2 separate regions of the Homo sapiens genome follow, and region 2 is linked to region 1. The links are contacts of gene promoters, found by promoter capture Hi-C in blood cells and fetal thymus (Javierre and others, 2016). All regions are on one chromosome and are shown on one strand. Each heading gives the region's core, a stretch centred on a gene start or on the middle of the fragment in contact. The rest is flanking DNA. Distances are from core to core; before and after follow the strand shown.

Region 1 (7,192 bases), core at 3,390-5,889:
GACATGATGAAGACATGTGGACTAGGCACCAACACCCATGACTGCCTGAACAGTCATACACCAAAACGGTTAACATCAATAAGGAGAGACTTTTCCTATTATGGAGGTAGAGCTCTAGAATATGGCCCTATCTGAAGGAAGATGGCTTTTTAAAATTAATCATTTGAACTAAGACAGAAACTATGCTTAGTGAATTTGGAAATTATGCAAAACCAGGACAAAAGCAAAAATAGCAATATTTCAACAGGATGAAAAAATGGACCAAAATCATCACACTGTTACAGTAAAAATGTAAACACCTATACTTGGATTAAAAAAAAAGAGAGAACATAGCTGGAAAGCACAGAATGGAGGAAACCAGTAAAAAATTCACACAAAAATAAATTTAAAAACTACACTTAAAAGATAAATCAGTGTGAGTCGTTGGTGCAATCTGGCTGCCAAAACTAAGGTAATCTTAGGCTGCATTAATAAAAGCACAGTGCCCAGAAAAAAAAAGAACAAATTGTTTCAATAGGTTCTAATATCTACTCAAACTGGAGTCTTTCTAGAGAGAAAATAACCAAAATAATGAAGAGTTTGGAAGGCCATGTGGTTTGAGAAACAGTTGAATATAATGGAGATAAAAGATGAAGAAAGTGGGCTAGTGATGTTGAGAAAGAGGATATTTAGAAGGTACTTAACCTTTTTTTTTTTTTTTTTTTTTTTGACAGAGTCTTTCTCTGTTGCCCAGGCTGGAGTGCATTGGTGTGATCTCGGCTCACTGCAACCTCTGCCTCCCCGGTTCAAGTGATTCTTCTGCCTTATCTTTCCAAGTAACTGGGATTACAGGCGTGTGCCACCAGGCCCAGCTAATTTTTGTATTTTTAACAGAGACAGGGTTTTGCCATGTTGGCCAGGCTAGTCTTGAACTCCTGACCTCAAGTAATCCACTTGCCTCGGCCTCCCAAAGTGTTGGGATTGCAGGCGTGAGCCACCATGCCCGGCCAGTACTTAACTATTTATCTTTAAGTGAAAGGAATGAAACTCTCCGTGAGAAAGTCCTTAGACATATTCTGTGTAGGACTGTAGGACTGGACATTAAAAGGTGACTTTAAAAGTAGACCCTAAAGGAAATATATTTTAGTTAGATAAGAGAAAGGACTCATGGTCATAAGATGGCTGCCACAGCTCCTGGCACTTTTGAAACAGCCCCTATAAACTTTATAAAATTAACCAGGGAAGAAGGAAAGGGAAGAAATGAAAATAAACCAAGTTCACAGCACATTCAGCAGTAATCGTGAGGTCTACTTGCTCTCTGACCTGTTTCCTCATAGTTACTCTGTGCCTATTGCCTCAGAATCACATAGATCCTGTTAAAAGATTATAAAGCCCCTTAACTGTTCTATAGAAAACAACTTGAACATTATGAAACATTATGTTTTCCCTTTGAGATACTCTTTTGGGTCCTGCATACTGATGAAGCTACTGACTCAGCTAGTTTGAAGGACCCCATGAGATCCTGACTCACCAAAGAAGGCAGTTTCCACATCCTGATGATAGAACTTTGTTCCATCGTCTTGGCCCAACCAATTAATAACCTCAATTTTTTAGCCACTCACTCTCCACAATCCCCTTAAATTAAAACGCCAGCCCAGAGCTCCTTGGAGAGATGGATTCAAGGGTCTCCTCCCATCTCCTGACGTGGTGCCCTGCAATCATCAAATTCTTTCTCTGCTGCAAACCCTGCTGACATAGTGTAATTGGTCTGTTACTGCACAGCGGGCATAAGAACCTGTTGGTCCTATAACACTTTGACTGTGGTCAAAGACACAATCAAAGACAAGAAGTGAGGGAAGAGTAGCACCAGAAAGGTCCTCTCTCCTATTTGTTTCTTTTATCAGGAAGCAAAATATCTTGTCCGGGTGGTTACCCCTAGCTGTAAAGGAGACTGGGAAATTGAATGTCTGGCACAGGGGTAGCTGGGACTTGCTTAAATCAATTATGACTAGGTCAAAAAGCCAATGCTGTAAGAATAATGGAGTGGAAAATGGAAAGAGCTTGGGTCCTCGCTGACATCACTGAGTTGCTGAATTAAATTTTAAACAGCCAAGCTTGTCTTCTTAGAGTGGGATAATAAATGTATATTTGACTGAGACATTCCTAGAAGGATTTTCTATCACTTGCAGTCAAATGCACCCTAATGGATACAGAGATGGTATTTATAAAGGTAACTGAGCCTACACCCAGTTGGACAATTCGTAATTTCCATTCATTCAACCAATATTTATTTAGTGTCCACTTTGTTCTAGGCACTGGTTAAACTCTGAAGATGTAATGGTGAGCAAAACTAACAAGGTCCTTGCCCTCTTGAATTTATAGTCTGGTGGGGAAGACAGGCACCCCCAAAACAACCCACAAAGGAGGAATATAAATATCCATCTCTCCTGCTTCTATGAAAAAGAGGTACATGGTATTATGGGAGCATTTAATAGAGAAATTATGCTGGTGGTGGAGTCAAGGAAGGCTGCCCTGAGAAGTGAGCAGCCATCTGAAATATGAATATGCACATTCAGGATTATGTCTTTGCCCAGAATGCTCTCTTTCTCTCCCCTGCCATGGCCCCCCCTCCCATCATGTTGCCTTATCCACTGTTTTGTTGAAACCTCCCATCATCCCAGTCATCTTCAGTATCATGCTTTCATGAAATCCACACTGACCTTTCCACTAGAAGTGACCTATTCCTTATTTAAACCCCATGAGATATGTTCTTACTCTGCCTCACAATTTCAGTGCTTGTTCTGCTTACCTCCTGACTCCCACGCCCACTTTGTAAGATGTGGACTATCTCATCTTCCCATTAAATGTCTAGCAACCTAGCTTGTTGTCTTGCACTTAATCAACATTCAATGCTTACTGTAATTGATTTTTTTTTTTTTTTTGAGACCAAGTATTGCTCTGTAGCCCAGGCTATAGTGCAGTGGCGGATCTCGGCTCACTGTAACCTCTGCCTCCAGGGTTCAAGCGATTCTTCTGCCTCAGCCTCTAGAGTAGCTGGGATTACAGGTGCATGCCACCAGGCTAGGCTAATTTTTGTATTTTCAGTAGAGATTACAGGGGTGAGCCACCACACTCCGCCCCTTAACTGAATTTTAAAACTACACTTTATCGGTGGGGCACAGTGGCTCACCCCTGTAATCCCAGTGCTTTGGGAGGGCAAGGCGGATGGATGGCTTGAGGCCAGGAGGTCGAGACCAGCCTGGCAACACGGCGAAACCCCAACTCTAGTAAAAATACAAAAAATTAAACGGGCATGGTGGCGTGCGCCTGTAATCCCAGGTACTCTGAAGGTCGAGGCACGAGAATCACTTGAACCCAGGAGGCGGAGGTTGCAGTGAGCCAAGATCATCCCGCCACTGCACTCCAGCCTGGGTGGCAGAGCAAGACTCTGTCTCAAACAAACAATCAAATACACCACATTTTATCAATGTTTACCCCCATATAGTTTCAGAAAAGATTTGATAGCTTACACAGAGGAGGGTGTGTGCATGATGTCCCCACAAACCTAGACACCCAGAGCATTGAATTTTTGTCCATAAACTGAATTTTTTGAAGATTAAAATATACTAATAAGGGTTATTATTATACTTATGTCAACTATTACTTATATGCGCTAGTTTCCTTAGTTTATTACAACCCTTATTCCTCAGCATAAGAAGCAAGGTGTTTGAATTTCCCAAGGGTGCATAATATCCTTTGAAGGGGCCTGGCTCTGTTCAATATTCCGAGTGACAGTTGTCCAGGATGGCACAGTGCCCTTCCTTAAATTCACATATTGGTAATCTTCACTGTAGGTTTATAAAAGGTTGTCCTCAGTAATTGAGGGACATAGTAACATAATTGCACACTATTGAAAGTGGACTCCCTCTTAGAGATAATCTGGTAACAGAGACCCGGAGATTTGTCCCAAACCAGGAAGACAGGAAGAGCTGTTCCCTTTGGTAATCATTTATCAGGCAGTAGCTTTCCCCATGGGGACTCGCGGAGAGTGTCGGAGATGTACAGTCATTCCCCTAACTTTCAACGTTTACACAACTCAGGACACACTCTAGGAAGGAATTCAATGATTTTCCTCTGGGTGGAGGTATTACTAGGTTCTAAAGCCGTGGCAGGCAAGCAGCTACCAACGGCGCTAAGTTCAAAGCTGCCCGAGAACTCGCCCAGAGTTAAGTCAGGGAAAAGAAACGCCTGGGAACAAACGCGCCTTCTCCCCTGCCCCAGGTGTGCTAAAGGACGATGCCGCAGATCCCTAACTAGCTCAGCCTTGGAGCGAGCGCTGGGTGCCTGCGATGGAAAGTCGCTCTTCTCGCCAAGAATGGTCGAACCCCAAAACTTCAGGGACGCCGCTCGGAGTAACTTCTCTTCACTCACTTGCGATCAGATGAGAAGAAAGTAAAGCCCTTCCAACGTCACCCTCAGCCGGCGCGCGGCAGCTGAGTCCCAGCGGGGACGGGGTCCGCCGGGTACCCCTCCGCCCGAGCCCTGTGCGCTTCCAGGTCCTCCTCCTCCGCGCGGTCACTGGCTGCATCTCCGCCGCCCCGGCACAATAGAGGCTCCGCCCTCCTTCCGCGCGAGCTCTCCGCGGCTCCCTAGCCCAGCAGCCCTCGCCCAGCAGCCCGCGCCGCCACCGCCTCTTCCCTCCCCGTGTCCGGTCCCCGTGCGTCCCGAGGCTCCCCGCCGCCCGTCCCGGCGCGCACCGCGGGCGTCTGTCCGAACGCCTTCCAGCCACCTGAGCCCTCCTGCGGGCGACTCGCTCAGCTAGCCCGTGCCCGCCTCCACCTTCTCCGTCATCCCCTCTTCCTTGCGTCCGGCTCTCCACTGGGGCTGCACAGTCGAGGGCTGCTCGCGTCGGGAAGGAGATGCCCAGAGTCTCTGGGGCGCACCCTCCCGTCCCGCTCAGCCGCACCCAGCTTTAGAAGGTGCTCTCAGCAGCCACTTTCGGGCTCTAGCGAGGACACCCTCTCGCAGAAGTCCTTGCCGAGACCCCCCGCCCCAGCCATTCTCTGAAGGGGCTGAGGACACTCTTATCGCGCCCCTCATGGCCAAGCCTCGGCTGCTAGTTCTCTACTTCGCTCTGATTGTGGTTCCGGCCTGGGTGTCCAGCATTGTCCTCACAGGGACAAGCGAGCCCCCAGATGCGCAGACAGTGGCGCCTGCGGAGGACGAGACTCTGCAAAACGAGGCGGACAACCAGGAGAACGTTTTATCTCAGGTAGGATGCAGAGTGCCACGACCGCCCTTCTTGCCCTGGATGGTGGTGAGAGCCAGAAGCTGGTCCTTGCTGAAGTGTTTGAGGGCAGCTGTTTTTCCTTCCATTACCAATGGAAAGGGCTTTTGATTTTTCATGTATCGGAATATTTTCTTAATGGAAGGATATAGGTTCTCCTCGCAAAATCATAGGGTGCTTAAAGGTCATCAAATCAGGAGAAAGGAGAGGTGAAGGAAGGGAAGATGCCGCTCGACTTCTTGAGAAGAAAGAAAACAAAGTTGTTTTTGGTTTCAGGGTTGTAAAAAGTATCTCTTGTCTATGTGGCTGTCTGTCAGAATTGGAATGTGAAAACAGCCGGATATGTTGACCAGGAGGCAGATGGCATATCCCATCGGGAGATACTTTATGGCAGAGGGTGGGACACCAGGCGGGAGCATGGGGTGAAGTCAGAACAGAAGCATGTGTGATGAATGTGAGGTGACCCCCAAACAGAGAGACTGAGAACATGACGGAGTGTACTGGGAGGGGAGAGTGGGAATGCAGATGCAGGCAGCTAGGGCAGACTGTCAGTGGGGGCCCGAGTAACCCATGATAGTGATGGGCTTCGTAAAGTGTCCGTTTACCAAGTACTTAAACTTGTTTTTTCTGACTCAATCTTCAAAACACCCTAATACCCATTTATAGATAAAGACCATAAGAGATACATGGGTAGGCCGGGCGCGGTGGCTCACGCCTGTAATCCCAGCACTTTGGGAGGCCGAGGCGGGCAGATCACGAGGTCAGGAGTTCAAGAGCAGCCTGGCCAATATGATGAAACCCCATCTCTACTAAAAATACCAAAATTAGCCAGGCGTGGTGGCAGGCACCTGTAGTCCCAGCTACTCAGGAGGCTGAGGCAGGAGAATCGCTTGAACCCGGGAGGTGGAGGTTGCAGTAAGCGGAGATCGCGCCACTGCACTCCATCCTGAGTGACAGAGTGAGACTCCGTCTCAAAAAAAAAAAAAAAAAAAAAAAAGAAGAGATACATGGGTAGAGCCAGGGCGTCTGACAGTCTTCAGCCCAGATCTCATGTCTGTAAGGGGTAGTTCTCTCTGGAGTGTTTATTTTGTGCTCTCCAGAGCCGGCATGATGACGTGTGGTGGGTGTCACCAGAATCCTCAGAATGGGGGATGTCTGAAAAAGGATCCTCCAGGGCTGCCTGTACCTTCACCTCCACCAAGCCCTAGGACTGGGCCTTGTCTCCTTCCTGTAGAGAGAATAATCAGCTGCACTTTGGGATTTATCAAACACTAGCCTCCTCACTCTTCCTTTAATAATGATGCTAATGTATGCCCTCTGCCCCCCCATTACCTCCCACTGACCCCTAAATCGAAAAGACATAAAAATCTCTCACACTGGGGCTCTGGAACACTATCAACAAAAACTTTCCTGAAACCCGAGCCTCCTGTAAGGAAGGAATCCACCCAGGGTTCTCAGAGCAGGGTTATGTAGGAATCCAGGCAGAGTTTCAGAGAGCAGACAGCCACAATTTACTATCAGCCCGTAAAGAACAGCCGCTTAAGTCACCCTTAACTACACCACCTTCTTCCACTGATCCATTCTGTGTTTGACAACAGCCCTAAAGCAAATATTAGTATTAGAAGAAACCCAATCTTTGCAAGGAAAACATTACAAGTCTTCTTCCCCCAGACAGCATCCCAAGGAACATTTCTACTCAAACAAGCTCAATGCTTGCCCACTGAAATCATTAATCAAATGAAGGGAACCCTTCTGCCTGCCTAGGAAGGGAGCCCTGGCTTTGGGGATGTAGGGCCTTTTGGAGAGGATTGGGAGAGAAGAGCCTTTTCCCAGCAAGCGCCCAGAGTTGGGGCTCCAGAAAGCCTACTGTCGCGTGTTTTCCTGCCTGGGGAGGCTGGCAGGGGCAAGTGCCCAGAAGGAAATGTT
Region 2 (7,192 bases), core at 2,438-4,937, 140 kb after region 1:
TAACAGCCCCTAATTTTTCTTCCCTCATAGACGTCAGCAATCAGCAGTTGTTTTTTAAAAAGTTATTTAATGCACTTGCATGCCTTGATTTGATCCATGAAATTAATACTGAATGCTAACAGGTGGTAGAATGTCAGGGACAGCTGTGTAGAGTATAGTCTTGTTCAGGTTAGTTTCTCCTTTCTCCACAGCCCAGCAGGATTCATGATGTACTGGTGCCAATAACTGACACACCACTCTTCTTTTAGGAATACTTAGAGATTTATGGATTGATTTATCCTTTTATATGTCCTCCAACTCTGAAACCCTGTGAAGAAGCGATTCTGGGGTCCTATGTGTGAATTCCATTTATAGAACCTATTCTAAGCAACATATTATATCACAACTATTAGACATAAAGGTAGCCTTGAGCTATGGATTGGGATTTAATCCTTAGAAATACATATTTTTCACTGATTTCTCTGTCTATAAAAGTTAGGAGAAATATAATTAGTGGGACTAAATCTAGATCATCTTAAAACTCTGATGCTCTGATGGGTGATAACAATTATCCCCTTTACAAAGTTCTTCATCTCCAGGTTGCAATGGATCTTACATTACCTAGCCCAAGGGCTTTATTTACCGCTTATGAACACTTGGTAGTGAGCATCATAAAATGCTTCAGGCCGAGTGCAGTGGCTCAAGCCTGTAATCCCAGCACTTTAGGAGGCCAAGGCAGGCGGATCAGTTGAGGTCAGGAGCTCGAGACCAGACTGGCCAACATGGTGAAACCCCGTCTCTACTAAAAAAAAAAAAGCACAAAAATTAGCCAGGTGTGGTGGCATATGCCTGTAATTCCAGCCACTCGGGAGGCTTAGGCAGGAGAACAGATTGAACCCGGGAGGTGGAGGTTGCAGTGAGCTGAGATCGCACCACTGCACTCCAGTATGGGTGACAAAGCGAGACTCCCTCTCAAAAAAAGAAAAAAAAAAAGCTTCATTTTACAATGTAGTTAGGGTTGACAAATATATCACTTCCCTTCCTTCATTCTTTCTTGTAGACCACTGCAAGTTAAGGGTACAGAAACAAACAACGTAGAGGTACTTGCTGCAATGTCTCTTTGTCGACTGTAGTTGCCAATTCAGTGTCTCTAGAACTGTCTCCAAATCTAATATGTGCATGCATGCCTTTAAATGAAGAGGAGTGGCAATACAGGACTGTGGTTAAGTCCATGAAGTTGGCTTAACATGTCGAATCCTGACTTTGCTACTTATTAGCTGTGTGACACTGGCTAAGTTATGTAACCTCTCTGTGCTTCACTTTGTAGTTGTAAAACTATAAGTACACTTACGCACCACATAATGATGTGTCTGTCAACAATGGACCGCATGTACTATGGTGGTCCCATGAGATTATAATGGAACATATACAGAAATCTGATACATGGCACTTAATGTTGGTGATGCAGATCAAGTAAGGGAAATGACTGACATTCAGTAACATGGCTAAGAAATTTGGTTTTCCATATGAAAAAATAAATATAAACAAAGATATACATCTAGGTTTGTGTAAGTATACTCTATGACGTTTGTACAATGAAGAAATTGCCTGACAATGCATTTCCTAGAATGTATCCCATTGCTAAGTGATGTATAACTGTATAAGATGTTTCTAGAATTTAGTTTTTATATGTATTTAATAAACATAAGTCAATGCTGGAGAAAATTTCTTCGTTTAACAGGAATTGCAAACAATTACAGAGTTATCTTCCTGAAATGCAAGTCTGATCATATTTCTGTCTTCTACAGGTTAAGAACCAAACTTCATGATCTGGACCCTGCCATCTTTTATTTCCTAGAACTGACTACATTCCAACAATTCTCTCACTCATCCTGTGTGCTTACATATTCACCTCTCTGTCTGAAATGCCACACTGCCTCATCTTCCTCCTACTCTCTACCCTACTCATCCTTCTATAACCAACTCTCTTGTTTTCTGAAAAATTTGATACTACCTCCTCCTTCCTTGATGAATGTAGTGCTCTTGGCACAAGTAAAATAGTGTAATGATATCTACCTCATAAAGCTGTTGAAAGGATTAAATGAAATGACTTCTATAAAACAGCTAGGACACTAAATGCTTCAAACATACTAGTTTTATTTATAATCTCAGTATTCTGCAGGATGTCTCTTTTATAGTTCCTATCCCAGTATGAAATTTTGGATTTACAAGTCACTTTTCTCTACAATAATAAATTCCTTGAGAACAAGGATTTTAGCTTATTTGTCTTTATACCGTCTATGGTAGCACAGTGCCTGGTAACAGTAAGTGTTCAATGAACATCTACTGAATGAATAAACAATGAAGCAAAACAGAATAAAATTTTATCAGACAGAAGCCGACTAGCAAAAGAGATGGGACTTTCAAGCAACTTATCTTTTTCTTTTTTCCTCTGAAAAAAATGTTGAATTATATTATATTATATAAAAACCCATTTTGGAAATCTAACAGGAATCTTCTGGGCTTTATACAGGAAAGGTAGGAAATATATTTCTTTTTTCCTCCCATCAATAGCATACAGCTTCACATTCTGCTTTTGACTGTGGTAACATGCCAGAATTCTACTAGTTACAGTATTACTTAGTTCTAAAAAACAGGCCTCACTTAAATAACTGGAGTTCATCTGTAGAACAGTAGTTACGCAGTACTACATGTTTGTGCAAAAGGAACATACTGGGGAGTACTAGAGAGGTACACACAAGGAATGGGGTGATGCTGGCTCTGACTCATGCTCCTACTGTTTATTTATAGCTTCTTATTAATATAGGATTTGTTTTATTTGGCAAAAATACAAGATTTCAACTGACTGAGAGAAGAAGATGTAAGAAAATGCCTAAGCATAAAACTTCTACAGCTGAATAATAATCTGTAGCTCAGTGCTGTATCAACAGGCTCCCCAGGGGATGGTGCAAACTGAAACCACTCCAGAATTACAAATTTCATGAGCTGCAGACTTTACTGCTAAAAGTAAAGTAGTGGTTAACCAAAGATTTTATTCCTCTATAGACACCTCCATTTATAAATGCTAAATTCACTAGTTGGAATTAGATTTTTAGAGTAGTGTACAAAATATTTACGATGAGTTCCTAATTACTTTAAATAATTTTCGCCAGCAACAAACAGTCAAAAGCAAATTTAAAAAGAGAAGCCAAAGAATTTATATGCTTAAAATGGAAACATTTCTCAATGTTAATTTAAAATGACTACCTGCCTTCTTACTCTGATTTTGCTTTTCAACACTTAAACCAATATTTTATTATATATGTATCTGTGTATTTGTTTAGCATCTGACTCTAGAATGTGGGCTCTGGAAAAGCAAGGGCTTGTTTGCTTTGCTCATTGCTGGAGTCCTTGTAGTGTTAACAGCCAGGAACGTAATGGCTATTCAGTAAATATCTCGCTGGACTAATGACAGAAAATTATTGAATTTCTTAATCCAATTCTTTGAGGATAATTACAGTTAGAAGAGCTTTTTTAAAAAAAAAACTATAAAAGTAAGGTAATTATTCAGATAGTCACACTTAGTATGAATAAAGTTGTTTTGGATAATAAAATCAATTCCTAAAAGGTTTGAGGAAGAAAACTTTTAAGCTCTAAAGTTATTTCACATTTATGTTTTCTTTAAAGATCAACAAACGCTATTCATTTAAAAAATTTTAACGTTTTTGTATTTATCACTACCGTTCATCTTCTTAAAGCAGAGGTGTTTGTTTCAAAATGAAAGTAAGATTCACATTTTGGTAGATGAAAAATATGCCTTCCTAGTTTTATATTTTAAAATCAGGTCAACTGCACAAAACTGCAGTAAAATAAAAATAAAAACAATTTAATCTGGACTTTTTGGTTCTAGTAAGTATTTTACCTAAGGAGACACTATATTCTCCCTAATCTAAGCTGAATACAAAATTGGTCAAATAATCCTAGGAGGAGAATGGCTTTCAAATAACCAGCAACCATATATGCACAGAAATTCTGTTGACCATTTCTCTTTGCATGATAGAGTATTATACATACATATTTTAATGAAAAATAAGATAAACTTTTAAAAGCTGACCCAAAAGCCTCAGACCTAAGTGACATTGCTTCATCAGAATAGACCTGAACTATTTTATAATCTGAATTCAAATTATCTTAATTTCCTTATGTTTTTAACAACCTGTGGATTCCTATTATATATAAAAATGTCAAGGTGACAGGCTTCATCTGAAAATGAGAAATAATGCATAGCGACCTTATGCAATTACATCTATTAACAATTACAGAACCTATGCTGATAGAATTTTTTAATCTATATGATTTTATATATGTGTGTGTTTTAATGCTTCTAAGATAACACTAAAGACTGCTTTTATGCTACAAGTGAAAATAATGTTTATTATATCTTGTGAATGAACCCATGACATAGTCATGTGGCTCCTATCTAATATCAATATGAAAATGTCAGATTAAAGGCTAGTTTCTTTACAATTATCAATTGATGTCACTAAATCCATCCAAATGAATGTGATGTAGTCAATCTGAATAAACCCTAAAAACAGCTGAAAACCTGGTGTCTGCTGTTACTCAGTTTTCTGACTGTAATCTAAGTCTGTAGTTCTATAGACATCACATGAAATGAGCACTGAATTAGAATCAATACAGGAAATATTTAAAAGAACTCAAAAGTCACTTTTGCTAAAGATTATTAGAAGAGATTATATAGACTATTGAGAGAGATTCTAGCTATCTTTCTGTTTGGAAGAGCTCTTCCTTTCAAGTTTCTGATTCTCTTTCCCCACAAAATGGAAAAAGGGTAAGTCTAAATTATCTAAATCTAACCTTCATAAATAAACCCAGTTAGATAATGGATGGTAGTGTAATGATACCATGTAATACTCTTGCAGTTTTAACACTCTTTCGAAACATGCCAATTTTCTGTCTGTTTATGGGTGATAAGGAAAATAATAGCATTAAAATGAATTTTTCTGGGGAGTTGGGGGAAAGAATGAATTTGCTAAATCTAATGAAAACAAACTCCTCTCCCCTTGTCATATCCTTTTATGGGTTCTTTCTATGTACCCATATGCTTCCAAGGTCAATCCCCTGATGATAAAGAAGTATACATATCTTGAATACCTATTATGTGTTAAGCACTGTGCCAGTACTTAACTTATTATTTCATTTAAACCTCTCAACAACCCAGGAAGAGGTAACTATTAATATTACTATATTAGAGATAAGGACACTGAAAATTAAAACCGAGATTTGTCTGACTCCAAAGCCCATGCTACCTGATTTTCTACAAAAAAAAAAAAGCTGTATCGACCCCCACTAAAACTTAATTTCTCCACGAAACTAAAAAGTAATGACTCACAGCTAAATGGAAAAACTATTTTTCTTATTTCTGAATAAGACTGCACAATACTACAGCATAAACTATTCCTGTGCTGTTTTTATATTATCTAAGCCAATGCATAGAGTATGTATATGTGTATACATGCATAATATATATAGTTTTAAAAGATTCACTCTAGAGTCTGATTCTGAAGCTCTTTTTCAAATTAAGGAAAACAAACTACTAATAGATTAGCCCAGAAGTAGCAGCTTTTCTTATAAGAGGCTTATTTTTAGTTCTTTGTTCACTTTTCAGTGTATTTCCTAGCACTGTGACCCATACAGGCACATATTATGTGTTTGTCTCATCTGGTCTCCAGAATTTTGGTTTGGCAATATCTTCTGCTACCCATTACACTTTTGTTATAATTATCTACAGTATATGTTATGTTTCCAAAGAGTATATAAATAACATTTCATTGGTTAAGTATAAAGACTGGAAATTTGAGGTTGAAGAAGTTCAATCATAGGATACTGTTTTAAGAAGTTCCAGCAAAATGTGCAACCTAACAAAGTCAAGGATAACACAAAGAAAACTAACAGTCTGGTATAACCTATTTAACTTGGCTTTGCTTTAATTCTTCCTTTAAAAGCTATTAGGTGAAAACACAGCATTGAATATCATACAATACTGGATATCCACACACACAAAATGAACTTTGATATACACCTTGCACATATACAGAAATTAATTCAAAATGGATCATACACCTAAATGTAAAACCTAAAATTGTAAGACTTTAAGAAAAAAAATATGAGAAAATATTTGTGACCTTTAGTTAGGCAAATATTTCTTAAAACCATAAAAACACAGTCCATAAAATAAAAAGCTGACATATTGGACTTCATCAAAATTAAGAATTTCTGCCCTTTGAAAAACACTAAAAAGGAAATTTAAATACAAGCAAAAAACTGGGAGAAAATATTTACAAGTCATGTATTTGATAAAGGACTTGTATATAGAATACATAAAGAACTCGCAAAGCTTCCAGATTGCTGAACATGAGGAGGTGCCTGGAAGGTAGCCTACTTGGAGAGGGTATGGAAGCTCCATACCCCTTCCACATAGCTTGCCCTATGCATCTCTTCCATCGGGCTATTCATCTGTATCCTTTGTTAATCATAATAAACCAGTAAACATAAACACTTCCATGCTGGCTTTCATGAAGCAAGTTGTCATGTTGTGAGCTGCCATATCAAGAGGCCCATGTGGCAGGAACTGAGGGGAATCTCCAACTGAGCAAATAACTGAGACCCTTAGTTCGGCATCCCACGAGGAGCTGAATTCTACCAACAATCATGTGAACTTATGAGTGGAACCTTCCCCAGTAAAACCTTGAGATGCAACTGCAGCCCTGGCCAAGACTGTGATTGTTACTTTCAGATGAAACCCTGGAGTAGAAGACCCAGCAAATCTATGCCTGGACTCCTGACCCATAGTAACTGTGAGATAATAAATGTGTGTGTTCTAAGCTGCTAAACAAAACAACACACACACAAAATCCTCAAAATGAAATCTCAATCATTAGAAAATAACTCAATAAAAAATCGGGAAAGATTTGAACAGACCCTTCACCAAAGAAGATTTATGGATGGCAAATAAGCACATAAAAAGTTGGTCAAAATTAATATAGTTATTAGGGAAATGCAAATTAAAACCACAATGAGATACCACTACATACCTCTATTAGAATGGCTAAAAATAAAAAGATAGGCTGTATCAAGTGTTGCCAAGGATATGGAGGCACTGCAACTCTTATTCCCACTGGTGGGAATGTAA

Evidence for each region. Contacts are between HindIII fragments. The CHiCAGO score rates a contact against its expected background, and 5 or more counts as called.
Region 2: a fragment that was not itself captured here is called in contact with the fragment with the promoter of OLFML2B in region 1 in 6 of 17 cell types (naive CD8 T cells, total CD4 T cells, M0 macrophages and 3 more); the score reaches 7.8 in naive CD8 T cells.

Annotation. Positions count from the first base shown.
Region 1 is chr1:162,021,316-162,028,507 of GRCh38, reverse strand. It overlaps OLFML2B (olfactomedin like 2B), which reads left to right and starts at 4,639. Exons shown (of 8, transcript NM_015441.3): 1 at 4,639-5,251. The coding sequence starts at 5,078. RefSeq lists silencers at 4,015-4,309, 4,378-4,527. The HindIII fragment of the contact is 12,162 bases long and covers 2,096-7,192 here.
Region 2 is chr1:161,880,851-161,888,042 of GRCh38, reverse strand. The region is part of intron 14 of ATF6 (activating transcription factor 6); the gene reads right to left. Among named protein-coding and RNA genes, the nearest start is that of ATF6, 120 kb to the right of the region's middle. The HindIII fragment of the contact is 5,424 bases long and covers 976-6,399 here.